5 separate regions of the Homo sapiens genome follow, and all the other regions are linked to region 5. Evidence: promoter capture Hi-C in human tissues and cell types (Jung and others, 2019). All regions are on one chromosome and are shown on one strand. The core of a region is centred on a gene start or on the middle of the fragment in contact, and the rest is flanking DNA. Distances in the headings are between cores, read along the strand shown. Region 1 overlaps ARK2C (arkadia (RNF111) C-terminal like ring finger ubiquitin ligase 2C). Region 2 overlaps LOXHD1 (lipoxygenase homology PLAT domains 1). Region 3 overlaps ARK2C (arkadia (RNF111) C-terminal like ring finger ubiquitin ligase 2C). Region 4 overlaps ARK2C (arkadia (RNF111) C-terminal like ring finger ubiquitin ligase 2C). Region 5 holds the start of LOXHD1 (lipoxygenase homology PLAT domains 1).

Region 1 (2,700 bases), core at 168-2,667, 200 kb before region 5:
AGTCTGTATTGCTGCTACAAGGGTAAAACCAGGACCAATGGGTAAAAGTAACAGGCGGGCAGATTTTGGCTTGAGGAAGAGCTTCTAGCACGACTGGTTCATGCGGGAATAGCTGCTCTGGCCACCTGCAGGCAGAAAGTGGGGGAAGTGGCTCCTGGCAGGAGATTTCTCCCAGCACTAATATCCTGGTGTTCTATAAAATCTTTATTGAGTGCCTACCGGTGCAGGCGCTGGGAGAGACAATAGCTTTGAGGAGCTCACAATCTAGCTGAGGAGACAAGACACATCCAATGCTGCAAAAATGGTGAATAACCTGATTCAGGGTTAGCAGCAATGAGTATCACAGCGTCCAACTCAGTAGCTCCAGTGTATGAAAATGTCTCCAGGGCTAAAGGCTGGAGATCTCACCAGTGGGGAAAGTACATCTGAGTCAGGATTTTGGGGGAAAGCTAGTTACTGATAGCCACAGGAAGTTGAGACTTCTGCCCCATTCTCTCCAATGGCTGGGTGAAAACCAAGAATTCATCGGAAGATGGCTTTGGCCTGGAGGTAGCTAGGGTGGTCTAGGAAGCTCACTCCTCTCTTAGTCTCAGTCTTTCATTCTTTCTGCTGAGACTGGCCTGAAAGGCTGGCAAGTGGGAGGGAGTCAGTGGGGAGGCCAGGATAGAACTAGAGCTGGTGTCCCAGGTTCCAGTCTGGGCTCTTCACTGACAAAGTGGGCAACACTAGAAACTTCCCTTTGTCTCTCTGGGCCTTAGTTTCCTCAGTTACAACCTAAGGAGGTTGGATTGGATGCTTGCTAATTTCCTTCTGACACTCACACTCCCTAACATCAACACATCTTCAAGGCGGCAGAGCTGTGCGCCCACCCAGCTATTGAAAAGGACTTTCTGTGGGCACACACTCTGTTTCAGACTGGGCTGGGGGCACACGTGCTGGGTGAGACAGTGGGCCCTCGTCCCCTCCCCCCTCCCAATTCTCTGCCCCAGGCTAATATTAGGGACTGGGGAGGGGACCACCAGAGGGGAGAGGGAAGCTGCTTACTTTGGGGGTAGACCCTGAAGCCCCTCCTCCTTCCCCCACAGATGGGGACAGGAGGTGATGGGGTGCTCAGAACCCTGCAGCTCCCACTTCTTTAGCCGGGCAGCTGTTTGGGGGACAAGAGAGGGCCAGGGTCTGTGCTTCTGCTCCCGGCACTGGTCAGGGAGTCTGGGAAGAGTGGAGAAGAGGCAGGGTCAGGCCTCAGCATCTCACATCCACCACCTCCAGGAGGGGAGACCACTGGTAAGTCCTCCTCCTGCTCAACTCAAGGGACTCAGACCCTTTCTTGACTGAGACGCATGAGTGCCTTCTGGGGTGAGAGCAGCCCCAGGGTTTAAGTTGGGCGTCCTAGCAGCTGCAGCAGCTGTGCCGCCGCGGGTCCACCGAGGACGCCAATCAATCAACCCAACACCACAAGCTTGGTTGGGTGCAAGCAGAGGGTGAGCAGGGGCTGCCCCTCCACCTGGCCAGGACCCCCTTCGGCACCCAGTTGCCCTTGGCCACCACCTGTGGCAGGACTCAAGCTCCTCTTCTGCAAATGTTCCCAGCCTCCGTGCAAGTATTCTTAACTCTTTACGCCTAATGAACAAGCACAGTTTTTCAATGGTGAAGAAAAAAGCACCAGACTTTTTTTCTTTTTTTCCTAAAGAAATCCCCTAAGCCCCCCGCCTGTAGGCGGGACAAACACTCCCTGCGTGGGGCTGTAGCAACGTCTGTCAGGCCCCCTTGTGTTTCATCTCCTGCGCGCGTAGAGCAAATGCTAGAGCGATTTCAGCTGATAGAAAAACAAAAATGAAAAAAAAAACACAAAAAACAAAAAACATGGCACGTTGCTAGTTTACAGGGTTTTGTGAGTTTAAATGCCTTATATTTAACAATCATAATTTATGACTAACTTGTAGATATCGTGGGTTCTTATTTAATTATTTTTATAGTTGTTTTGCATTTTTAATTATAATTTATTTATTTAGAAAGGATACTAATTTTTTTTATTACTCCTATTACCTCATTTTGGCGTTGTTTCTGGGAGTGGAATGCTTTGCATGCATTGGTACGATGACAAACAACTACGAATACAAAAAAAAAATTTAAATAAAATTCTGCAAACTTTATTTCGTCCGAACTATCAGGGTGTGTGATTGCAAGCTGTCCTACCGTGGTGCTGGCCTCTTTGGATACATTCCATACGAAATGCAAACCTTTGATTCTGTATGCTGTGATCTAGTGAAAAACTCCAATATAGTGACTGTATTTAGCACATATATAAATATAATTTGCACTTGTCAGCAGACTGGGGTAATCCTTTCACTTGCTACACTTGGCACCCCCCCGCCCCCACCACAACCCTGCCTCTCCATCATGAACCTGCCTTTCCTCCTCCCTCGCTCCTCCCACAACCTCAGCCCACCCAGCCGGTATCCTCTGAGGAAAGTCTTGGGGCACTAGAGGCCACTGTCTCCACCTGGCCTCCAACTCCAGAATTGGAGCCCTCCAGACATTACAAGAGGAACATCAGAGAGCCAAAAAGCCTGACTTCTTAGAAGGAGCCCTGGACTGGGGAGCCGGGAGGCTCAGGTTTTCAAATCTGCTCCATGACAGACGTCCCAATGACCTTGAGCAAGTCCCTTGGCCCCTGAGTCTCAGTTTTCTGGGTGGGGT
Region 2 (2,700 bases), core at 34-2,533, 170 kb before region 5:
AGTGGGCCAGGGAACAGGGATGGGATGGCAAGCAGGAGCTCATGGCAGTCCTGGAGGCTTTGAGGGGTTCAGTTCAGTTTGGGACCAAGACAATCACGATGAAAAAGCCCCACTAGCTGCCTGGCCTCAGCACCAAAGAATGGTGACATCGTTATGCAGGATGGAGATGGGGAGGGTGGTGAGACTTGGAGAGCAGAGGGAGGAGGGGAAGGGAAGAGTCCCCTGTAACAGACATGTCTTAGCAAAGTCATAGGTGGGAACAGTGGGGTGTGGAGGTGCAGATATTTCTGGGGGAATGCTGGCTTGGGTGAAGTTTGGGTTCAGGGAGGGAAAAGCTAATGGAGAAGGTATGGGTGCAGGCAGCCTGTGGGGGTAAGTGCCAGTCTAAGGTGTCCAGACTTCATCCTGAGGTAGAGATTTGAAGAAAAGGTTGTTATAAATGGAATGTCTGTGCCCCAGTTCCCCCAAATTTATATGTTGAAACCTATTCTCCAGTGTGATGGTATTTGGAGGTAGGGTCTTTGAGAGGTGATGGGGTCATGAGAGCTGAGCCCTCATGAATGAGATTCATGCCTTTATAAAAGGGGCCCTGGAGAGCTCCCTCCGCCTTCTGCCATGTGAGGACACAGTGAGAAGATGGCTATGAACCAGGAGGCAGGCCCTCACCAGACACCAGATTTGCTGGTGCCTTGGTCCTGGACTCCCAGCCTCTAGAACTGTGAGAAATACATTTCTGTTGTTTCTAAGCTACCAGTCTGAGGTATTCTGTTATAGCAGTCAGAATGGACTAAGAGAAAGATGTAGCAGAGTTAAGGGGGAGGTGGAGGCTGTCTCAGCAGTCCTGGAGAGAGTGAGGAGATGAAGTGGGCATCCGAACAGTTCAGAGGTGGCTCTGATGGAAGGAGGTGTGGTCCTTGTCTACGTAGATGTGGGGCAATGTTTGGACTGAGTAGCACTGTCCATCCACAGGGTGGGCTCCCATTAAATGCAGTCCCATGCTTTCCCTTTCACCATTGCCTGTTTAGCCCCTGGGTGCTTGCACAGGATTGGCACACAGTAGGTGCTCAGTAAGTACTTGCTGGTTAGGCCCATTTGTGTACCTATGGCTCCCACCCAAGAGGGAGATTCTCGGGGTCCTCCCTTACCTACCCACCCCCCACCACTTCCCATGGGCCTCCCCTTCCTACTTCCTAAAGGCCCGCTGCCTAGAAGAATTTTCCATGAGAAACTCTTTGGATCGGTTCTTCCTGCCCTCCAGGATGAGCCAGACGTTCTCCCTGGTTTCGCCTCCGTTGCCCGTTTCTATGACGATCTCGTAGGCTGTAATGGAGGAGGTGGGGGAGGGTCAGCACAGGGGAAGCAGTGCCCGTCTTCAGGGCGGGAGCAAGAGGGTCACGGCCTCCGGTCCTTCATTTGATCTTAGGCTGCAGCCTGGGGGTGGGGGAGGCAGGTTAAAAGCACCACGATTGAGGCGTTGTAGGTAGAATCTGCCCGGATTCTGGGGCTACAGCGAATGCTCTCATTTTATTTATAGTAGCAACCTCTTTGTAGGCAAATATGGGAGCCACTGGGAATGCAGCAGGAGGTGGGGCTGAACATTCAGCTACAGGGGTGAGATGCAAAATGGAGATTGGTGCTGAGAAGGGACAAGAAGTGGGGCCCAGTGCAAAAGCAAAGGGGAAAGACCCAGGCAGGCAAAGCCACCCCAAAGACCCTTGCACTTGCTCCAGCAAGCAGTCTCACTTGCATCTTGTCTTGGTGTCACTCCATCTCACCCTGCTATTCACTCAATCGTGTCTGCACAGGTGTGCACTCCTCCAACACTGGTTAAGTAGGTGCCAAGTGCCAGGACTGGACTAGACCCTGGGTGACACTAGAACTCAATCTCTAGCCCCAGACACAAACATGGACTGTACCATATGACAGAATGTGATAGATAACCCTGCAAAAAAGAGCCAAAGTACCGTGGGGTAAGAGGAAAACCTGGCTCCCCATTTCCTCTCCCACCTTGTGTCCTGGTACTTTCTCTCTTTCTCACTCCAGCCACTCTGCCTCCTAGCTGCACCCAGAGCACTTAGGTGTGCTCCTCCCTAGAGCTCTGCAATGCTGTCCTTCTGCCTGGAGTCCTTCCCTCTTTCCCTCTCCCTCCCCCACCCATAGTGGCGTGGCTCACTGACTCACCTCCTTCTCATCCTTACTCAAAAGTCATGTCTCAGAGATGTCTATCCAACCACCCTAATTAAAATTGCTACCTGATCCCCCTAAGCCAAGATACTGAGAGAGTGTGACATGTGATCCAGGCTCACTCCCCAGGGACCAGACCAGGGATGGAACCAGCACCCTGGAGGACACAGTAAGTGTCTGGCTCAAGTGTCCCCAGACATAGACCCCTTGCTGCAGTACCTGGATGACTGACGGTCTGGGATTCTGGATCCAAAGGGGTAGCTCTGTTTCTGTGCCTTTATCTCAGAGACATGATAAAAATAATGAAGATGAGAGACGGCCATACCTGTGGCTCAATGTAGCACCACTCCCAGCCCCTCAGCCACCCTTTTGCCTCTGTAACTTTTCTCAAGGAGAAATCTCTGCTACCTGAAACAAGTAGAGTGAATCTAGGCAAAGAGACAGGCAGCCTCTGATAGAGGAAGAGATCCACAGAAAGTGCATCCTTCTGCAGTAGGGAGGGGTTCTGCAGCCCAG
Region 3 (2,726 bases), core at 198-2,697, 220 kb before region 5:
AAACAATAAAAAAATAAGAGAATAGTATAATGAATTCACACATATATGTTATCCAGCTATGACATCAACTCATGGCCAGTTTTGTTTTTGTTTTGTTTGTGTGTTTGTTTTTTTGAGACGGAGTCTCGCTCTGTCGCCAGGCTGGAATGAAGTGGCACGATCTTGGTTCACTGTAAACTCTGCTTCCCAGGTTCAAGCGATTCTCCTGCCTCAGCCTCCTGAGTAGCTGGGACTACAGGCGCACACCCTACACCCAGCTAATTTTTGTATTTTTAGTAGAGACAGGGTTTCACCATGTTGGCCAGGATGGTCTCGATCTCTTGACCTCGTGATATACCCGCCTCGGACTCTCAAAGTGCTGGGATTACAGGCGTGAGCCACCACGCCCAGATCTCATGGCCAGTTTTACTCATCTTTGTTCTCTCGCTTCCCCGGTCCTGATATTACAGTAGTCTCCATTACCTGTGGTTTCGCTTTCCAGGGTTTCAGTTACCCATGTAAACCACGGTCTGAAGATATTACAGCATTTTGAGAGACTGAGAGAGAGAGAGAGAGAGAGAGACCATATTCACATAACATTTTTTGCAGTATATTGTTATAATTGTTCTATTTTGTTATTGGTTATTGTTAGCCTCTTACTGTGCCTAATTTATAAATTAAGCTTTATCATTGGTGTGAATATACAGTATAGGAAGAAACATAGTATATATAGGATTCCTTATTATTCACAGTTTCAGGCAGCCACTGGTGTCCTGGAACATATCCCTCACAGAAAAGGAGAAACTAGTATATTTGGAAACAAATCCAGGCATCATATTATTTCATCTGTAAATATTTCACTATGTATCTCGAGAGATAATGATTCTGCTTTTTCACATCCTTACTTTGATACCACTATTAACACAAAGAAATTTAATAATAATTTTTACTATAATCAAATATCTAGCCAGTATTAAAATTTCTGTTATACTTTGTATCAATCAAGATCCGAATAAGTTTTACACATTGTGATTGGTTGATATGTCACATAAGTCTCATTTAATCTACATGTTCCTGGATTCAAATTGCTAAAATTTTGTTAAGTAATTTTTACATCTTTGTTCATGAGTAATATTGGTTTATAGGGTTTTTTTTTTCCTTGAAATGCCTTTGTCTGATTTTTATATCAGTGCACTGCTTGCCTCATTGAATGGTTTGGGAAGTCTTTCCTCATCTACTTTCTGGAAGAGGTTGTGTAGGATTGGCATTATTATTTTTAATTAATTAATTAATTTTTAGATACAGGGTCTTGCTCTGTCACCCAGGCTGGAGTGCACCTTGGCTCACTGCAGCCTCGATCTCCTGGGCTCAAGTGATCCTCCTGCCTCAGCCTCCCAAGTAGCTGGGACTACAGGTGTGCACCACTGTGCCCAGCTAACTTTTTGTTTTTTAAATTTTTGTAGAGACAGAGTCTTGCTATGTTGCCTAGGCTGATCCTCTACTTCTGTGCTCAAGCAATCCTCCCACCTCACCTCCCAAAGTGCTGGGATTACAGGTGTGAGCCACTGTGCCCAGACGCAGGCTGGTCTTACATGCCTAGGCCCAAATGATTCTCCTGCCTTAGCTTCCCATGTAGCTGGGATTACAGGTGTGTGCCACTGCATCTGGTAATTTTGGTAGTTTGTCTTTCAATAAATTTTCTCATTTAATTGGATGTACTGGCATAAGGCTATTCATAATATTTTCTTATCATTTTAACATCTGGAATCTGTAATAAAGCTCCCTCTTTCATTCCTCATATGAGTAATTTGTATGTTCTCTCTTTCATTCTTGATCAATCTAGATAGAAATTTAATCATTTGTACTACTCTTTAGAAAATAGCCTTTGATCAGGCCAGGCGCGGTGGCTCATGCCTGTAATCCCAGCACTTTGGGAGGCTGAGGCAGGCAGATCATGAGGTCAGGAGATCCAGACCATCCTGGCTATCATGGTGAAACCCCGTCTCTACTAAAAATACAAAAAATTAGCCAGGTGCAGTGGCGGGCGCCTGTAGTCCCAGCTACTCGGGAGGCTGAGGCAGGAGAATGGCGTGAACCGGGAGGCGGAGCTTGCAGTGAGCCTGGGCGAAAGAGCGAGACTCCATCTCAAAAAAAAAAAAAAAAAAAGAGGCCGGGCGCGGTGGCTCACGCCTGTAATCCCAGCACTTTGGGAGGCCGAGACGGGCGGATCACGAGGTCAGGGGATCGAGACCATCCTGGCTGACACGGTGAAACCCCGTCTCTACTAAAAATACAAAAATTAGCCGGGCATGGTGGCGCGCGCCTGTAGTCCCAGCTACTCGGGAGGCTGAGGCAGGAGAATGGCGTGAACCCGGGAGGCGGAGCTTGCAGTGAGTCGAGATCGCGCCACTGCGCTCCAGCCTGGGCGACAGAGCGAAACTCCGTCTCAAAAAAAAAAAAAAGAAAAAGAAAATAGCCTTTGATCCCATTACTTGTTTTTTATTTCACTGATTTATTTCACTGATTTCTGATCTTGATTTTATTATTTCCTCCCTTCTACTTATTTGGGCTCTAGCTTCTTAAGGCGGAAATTTAGATCATGACTTTGGGTTTTCTTTTCTAATATAAGCATATAAAACTGAATTTTTCTTTAAGGACTACAAACTTTCTAGTTAGCATTATGAATTCTTTTTGACCCTGGGTAATTTAGAAGTTTATTATTTAATTTTTGAAAACTTGGGATTTTG
Region 4 (2,837 bases), core at 166-2,665, 240 kb before region 5:
ACATCACAGGTGCCACAACATGCATGTACATGCACATATCCATGAATAGACATATACCTGCACATGAACACGTTCACACAAATCCCACAGACACATGCTCGCACATGCCCATATCCATACCTACACCATGCACACACACATGCTTATACATTCATGATCATGCCACGTACCACACAATACACACATACACAGATGCACGCTCACAGACACATGCACATACACACAGCCTTGAGACTCCAGAAGGGCAAACACAGCACGTGGAATCCTGGTCCTCAGGTCCTCCTTTGCCCCAGTGCGGAGGGCAGGTTGCAGAGGCCTCTGGGAAAGGCCATATGAGTGGCCGTGTTAGATTCATTGGGAGCCATTTCACCCCTAGGAAACATTTTCATTTTGTGTCATCACAGCCTTGTGAATGGGGAGCGTGCACTTCCACCCAGGGCTGCAGGAGGATGTGTGAGGGAGTAGGGGCTGAGCTAAGCCGCAGTCCTGCTGGGCCTTTATTCTCAGCTCATGGACACTCCATCGGCTTCAGATAACATCTGGAGCCAAAGCCCAGGAAATGGGCAGGGGAGGGAGCAGAAGCCAAGTCAGCCTGTGCGCTGCTGCAGTTTCAGGGCCTGGTGGAGTCCCTGTGTCAGTCCAGAGTGTCCCCTCCCCAGGCCTACATGACCTCTGCCAGAGTTTGACTGACACTCATCGAAATGTGAATACCCACGTGAGCCCCAAGGCAGTGACCTTACCAGTAAGTTGCTGAAGGAAGGCGAGGCACAGTGGTTCACACCTGTAATCCCAACACTTTGGGAGGCCGAGGTGGGCGGATCACGAGGTCAGGAGATGGAGACCACCCTGGCTAACACGGTGAAACCCCATCTCTACTAAAAATACAAAAAATTTTTTATATTTATAGGCAGTGGTGGGCGCCTATAGTCCCAGCTACTCGGGAGGCTGAGGCAGAAGAATGGCGTGGACCTGGGAGGTAGAGCTTGCAGTGAGCCGAGATCGTGCCACTGTACTCCAGCCTGGGCGACAGAACAAGGATCTGTCTCAAAAAAAATAAAAAAAATAAAAAAATAAATAAAAATAAAAAAGTTGCTGAAGGAGCCCCCTCCCTGGTGCACTAGGCCCTTTATTGAGAACGTGTTTTGGTGGTGCTGAGAGTGAAAGACGGGCTTGGAATCAAACAGGCTCCAGATTCCCAACCTGGGCCAAGTGATGCTGAGCAAGTCTTTCTAACCCTTGAGCCTCAGTTTCTTCATCTCTAAAATGGGAATAATGGGAATAATGCCCATAATTCATTGCACTGGATGGTTGTAGGGCTGAATTTGGGAAAAGCTTTGTGACAGGTAAAGTGATATGCTGATATGACTGGGATCATCACAGAGGGACTGAAGCAGAGTTCACGAGGGACCTGGAGTGCCAGGTGGGAGGAGAGGTAAGCAGGGAGGCAGAAAACAGTGCCTGAAGCCTTGAAAATGGAAACCAATTTGGACACCCAGTGCTGCACCAGCTGGCCACTCAGGGCTGGGGTTTGTCCTCAGCCTTCCTGACTTTGCTGCTGGCATTTTCATGGCTAATTAACATGTCATGGGGGTGGAGAGGAAGAAAAACTCAAAACAATTGATTTGTCTATTTGCCAGCACATCTGGGAAAAGGCTGGGTGTGGGAGGTCAAAATCAAGGCTAAAAATCAGTGCTTTGCATTCTCAAGGAAACACACGGATCTGCAGGAAAGCTCTAGGAAGTCAAAGCTCAACTATAAACTCTTGAGACAGCAGTGGGCATGGAGGGAGGAGGCATTTAAAGCTCTTCTGGCTTTGTGAGGAGAAGGGTGACACAGAAACCTGGCTCATGATAAGGAAGCCAATGAAGAAGTCATCATCCATCCTTCCCTCCCTCCATCCGTAAGCATCCGCCAAGCACCCAGATTGCATCCAGCCCTGTCCTGAGGGTGCTCTGGGTGTTGCATGGAGACAATACAGGGACTTTTCTCTTTAAGCATTCAGATTCACATTCAGAACATTGAGAGCACAACTCAAAATTGAGTCCCCACCTCAATAAACGACAACGCCATTTGTATCAGTTAGCTTTTTCTGTATAACAATCACTCCAAAATTTGGCCTTAAAACAACAACCTTTTATGCAGCTCACAAGTCAGTGGGTTGGTAATTTGGGTTGGGCTCAGCTGGGAAGTCCTTTTGGTCTTCTTGGGCTCACTCACATTGCTGCAGTCAGCTGGGACAGATGGGTCTAGGACAGTTTATTTGTATATCACATGGTCTGTCATTCTCCAGCAGGTTAGCCTGGGCTTGTTCTTATGGTAGAGGCAGGAGACCAAGAGAGAGTGGAAACTGCAAGGTCTCTTGAGGCCTGGGCTCAGAATTGGCATGATGTCACTTCTGCTACCTTCTATTGGCCTAAGCCAGTCACGTGGCCATGCCCAGAGGCAAGGGGTGGGAAAGTAGACTCTGCCTTTAATGGGAGGAGCTTGTATGGGAGGGTAAGCATACAAGGAGGGGAGAAATTGAGGCCATTTTTGCAAACTATCAGCCACACCAATCTTCTAGTTGCTTAGCAAGCAAGATATGGAGTCTATCTTGTCCTCTGTCTCTCAGGTTTTACATCCAATCCATGAACAAATCTTGTCACCTGTACCCTTGAAATGAAATATATTTTGGATCTGACCATTCCTTTCACCTTCCCCCGATTGCCACCCTAGTCCAAGAAACCATCATCTCTTCCCTGGTTCCTGCTTCTTACCTTTGCCTTCTGCAGCCTATTCTATTCAGCAGCCAGAGAGTCAAGACCTGTCACTTCTCTGCTCAGATACCCTCCTCAGAG
Region 5 (2,700 bases), core at 70-2,569:
AGGAGGGCTTCATGGAAGAGATGGGATCAGAACTGGGCTTTCAGAGTGAGGACAGGAAGAGGGAGAAAGGGGAAGACAAACAAGGCCATGGGCAGGCACAGAGCACACATTCAATAAATACTTGCTGAATGAATGAATGAGTGAATGCATGGATGACTATGGCGCTTACGGGGACTGGTGAGCCACTTTGGAGTCAGCATTGAGAATTTAAATGGCTTCAGAGACTAGGCAGGCAGCACTGATGAGTAAACCAGACCTAGTATGAGATGACAGGGAGTGGTGGAGACTGTGATAAGCTGGACGTCCACAGCCTATTGGCATTCACAGAAAAAAGGATTTCAAAACGCTGGAAAGGAAAAAAACAACTTAAACTCTGCTGGCCAAAACCAGCTCTAGGGTCACAGTTCACTTCTTTGGTTTACCTGGCAAGGAGTTAGAGCAATTTCAAGCAGGTCTCATGTGGCCCAGGGAAAGATGAGACTAGAAGGACAAGGCCCTGGGGTCCAGAGCACCGGCCGCCTTCGACATATGGGATGGACATCTCCTTGCAAAGCCCCAGGCTCCCTGTCTCCATCAACCACAGTGGGCATAGGATGAGCTGTCAGGCTTCCTCCCCAAGACATCCTTTCATGACCCCAGCAGTTCAGGGCGCTCTGCCTGATGCAGACCACCTACTCGGGGACCAGACTGGAACGTGGCTTTGGGGATGTTCAGGAGCTGGAGAACATGGGGCCATGGGGGCACTGTGGCTCTAGTCTATTCTGTTCCACTGAGAATCGGGGGCTAAAGGCAAGTTGCTCCACCTGTCTGTACAACAGGGACCCCACCATCCCTGCATAATGCCTGCCTTCTTACTCCGAGGGGATATGGAACAGACACATGGGATAATCAGTGAGGAAGGGCTTGCTCCGAAATCTTAGAATGACTCCCCATAGACAGGAACAGACCCCTGCCCACCGCAGCCAGCTGCACCACCCGCCCCCCGCAGGCTGGGACCCCGCACCTCTGGCCTTGTAGTACTCGTGTTCCAGCTCCCCCTCGTCGTCCTCCGAGGCGTAGTTCAGCAGCTCCGCTTCGTACAGGGCCAGGAAGTCGATGTCCTTCTTCCTCCGCCTTTTCTTCTGGGGCATCATTCTGTCGGCTGCCTTCTCCCAGCGCTCGCAGGCTCACTGTGCCGCCTCCTCACACCTGCGGGAACCTGAGACCTCCTCCCTGAGCTCTGGCGCCCACGGCCCTCCTATAGCTCAGGCCTGGGTGGGCCAGAGTGCCCCGTTTTCTTGGCTTCCCCGTGCCCAAGGTGCTGTTCCCTCTGCCTTCTCTGGCTCCTGAGCTGAACCTCAGTGCCTTATCTCTGAACCTCCTGTCCCTGTCCCCTCCCACCACCCTCTGGTGAGCCACCTCCTCCTCCTCTGTACCTGCCCCGGGGCTTCTCTTTGGGCCTCATCACTTATTCATGGCGCTGAGGGCAGGCTGACTTCCTTCCTCTCTCCCCTCCCCACCAGCCCTCTCTCCTCCCTATGGAGAATCAGGTGACACGGAGCCCTTGAAGTCCATTTCCCACCTGGCCTCACAGCCAGGGGGTCACCTGGGATCCCTCCAGGCCACCCCAGGGACAGGTGAGGGCTCCTCACCCAGGAGATCTCCCAAGCCTTACAGCCCACACGGGACCCTCCTGAGGAAGGCGGGGCCCCGGAATCAGCCAGGCTCCCAGGACTCAAAGGCCCCCGTTTCTCTCCATTATTCATGACCTCTGATCGTCTTACGGAGCAGGCGGGGTTCTCGCTGGATCCTTCTCGTTCTCTCTCTCTGCTTCCATCTCATCAAGACTGCGGGCTTCCGGAAGTGGCCTCTGGGCACGAGGAAAGCTAGGGCACCAGAAAACTCTCCCCGCTCCCCCTGCCAGGTGAGCTTTATATGCACTAAAGTTTAAACATCATCGTAGCCGATGCCCTCCCAGGTGAACTCACTAACTAGATCAGCTCACCACCTGGACTCACGGGAGGGCATCAGCAAGCTCCTACCCCAGGGCGCACAGCCCGGGCTGCACACCAGAAGCCCCCAGAGAGGTGTTGAACGCTAATGCGTGGGTCCCATCCCCAAGGATTCTGATTTGCTTGGTTTGGGACGCAGCTTGGGCCCCAGTTTTTAAAGCTCCTGGTGACTTTCATGTGCAGCCATGTTGAGGGTCCCTGAATCGCTTCTCAGGTAACTTAGGTGTGCTAACAGGAGTCCTCTAGAAGCAACACGTGTGATTTTGTCCTCTAAGCCAAAATAGTGACTCTAAAGGGGAATTTCAGGTGGAGAGGAAGAGAGGATTTGGAGCGGACGCCTGAGGAGCAGTCGGCACTCACAGGCCTCCCCGGCAGCCTGGGGCAGCTTTGGTCCTGCCCTGCTCTTTGGAGCCATCCAAATCTTCCACTAGGGGGAGGCATCTCTAACCCCGAACGTTCCTACCCAGGAAAGATCAACCTCCCCTCTTCCCCTATTCAGCTGAGGGGCCGCCCTTGAAGCAGCTCAAAGTCCTCTGAGGACCAGGAGTGAAGTTTAATGGTGGGTGGCGCGCGCCCCCTTCTGGCAATATGTGGTTTACACACCTGGATTCTTCAGGAAGAGACCTTCCTTAAGGATCTCTAGGAATCTACTAAGAAAACTCATTTTACACGAGTACCCATTCAGGGAAAAGATAATAAAACGTTTCTT

The links. The method cuts DNA at HindIII sites, captures the fragments that hold promoters and counts their contacts. A contact is called where the count stands out against the background at its distance.
Region 1: a contact is called between a fragment that was not itself captured here and the fragment with the promoter of LOXHD1 in region 5, in 1 of the 25 tissues and cell types used here (H1 embryonic stem cells).
Region 2: a fragment that was not itself captured here is called in contact with the fragment with the promoter of LOXHD1 in region 5 in 1 of the 25 tissues and cell types used here (spleen).
Region 3: a contact is called between a fragment that was not itself captured here and the fragment with the promoter of LOXHD1 in region 5, in 2 of the 25 tissues and cell types used here (lymphoblastoid cells and mesendoderm cells).
Region 4: a fragment that was not itself captured here is called in contact with the fragment with the promoter of LOXHD1 in region 5 in 1 of the 25 tissues and cell types used here (H1 embryonic stem cells).

Annotation. Positions count from the first base shown.
Region 1 is chr18:46,458,539-46,461,238 of GRCh38, forward strand. ARK2C (arkadia (RNF111) C-terminal like ring finger ubiquitin ligase 2C) reads left to right here. Exons shown (of 8, transcript NM_152470.3): 8 at 1-2,700. Among named protein-coding and RNA genes, the nearest start is that of ARK2C, 130 kb to the left of the region's middle. RefSeq lists an enhancer at 1-385. The HindIII fragment of the contact is 7,215 bases long and covers 1-2,700 here.
Region 2 is chr18:46,483,832-46,486,531 of GRCh38, forward strand. It overlaps LOXHD1 (lipoxygenase homology PLAT domains 1), which reads right to left. Exons shown (of 41, transcript NM_001384474.1): 39 at 1,188-1,320. Among named protein-coding and RNA genes, the nearest start is that of ARK2C, 150 kb to the left of the region's middle. The HindIII fragment of the contact is 5,750 bases long and covers 1-2,700 here.
Region 3 is chr18:46,439,736-46,442,461 of GRCh38, forward strand. All of the region lies in intron 3 of ARK2C (arkadia (RNF111) C-terminal like ring finger ubiquitin ligase 2C), which reads left to right. Among named protein-coding and RNA genes, the nearest start is that of ARK2C, 110 kb to the left of the region's middle. The HindIII fragment of the contact is 6,852 bases long and covers 1-2,726 here.
Region 4 is chr18:46,414,480-46,417,316 of GRCh38, forward strand. All of the region lies in intron 1 of ARK2C (arkadia (RNF111) C-terminal like ring finger ubiquitin ligase 2C), which reads left to right. Among named protein-coding and RNA genes, the nearest start is that of ARK2C, 82 kb to the left of the region's middle. RefSeq lists an enhancer at 135-1,083. The HindIII fragment of the contact is 5,765 bases long and covers 1-2,837 here.
Region 5 is chr18:46,655,901-46,658,600 of GRCh38, forward strand. It overlaps LOXHD1 (lipoxygenase homology PLAT domains 1), which reads right to left and starts at 1,320. Exons shown (of 41, transcript NM_001384474.1): 1 at 1,004-1,320. The coding sequence starts at 1,133. RefSeq lists enhancers at 1,568-2,517, 2,328-2,377. The HindIII fragment of the contact is 5,571 bases long and covers 1-2,700 here.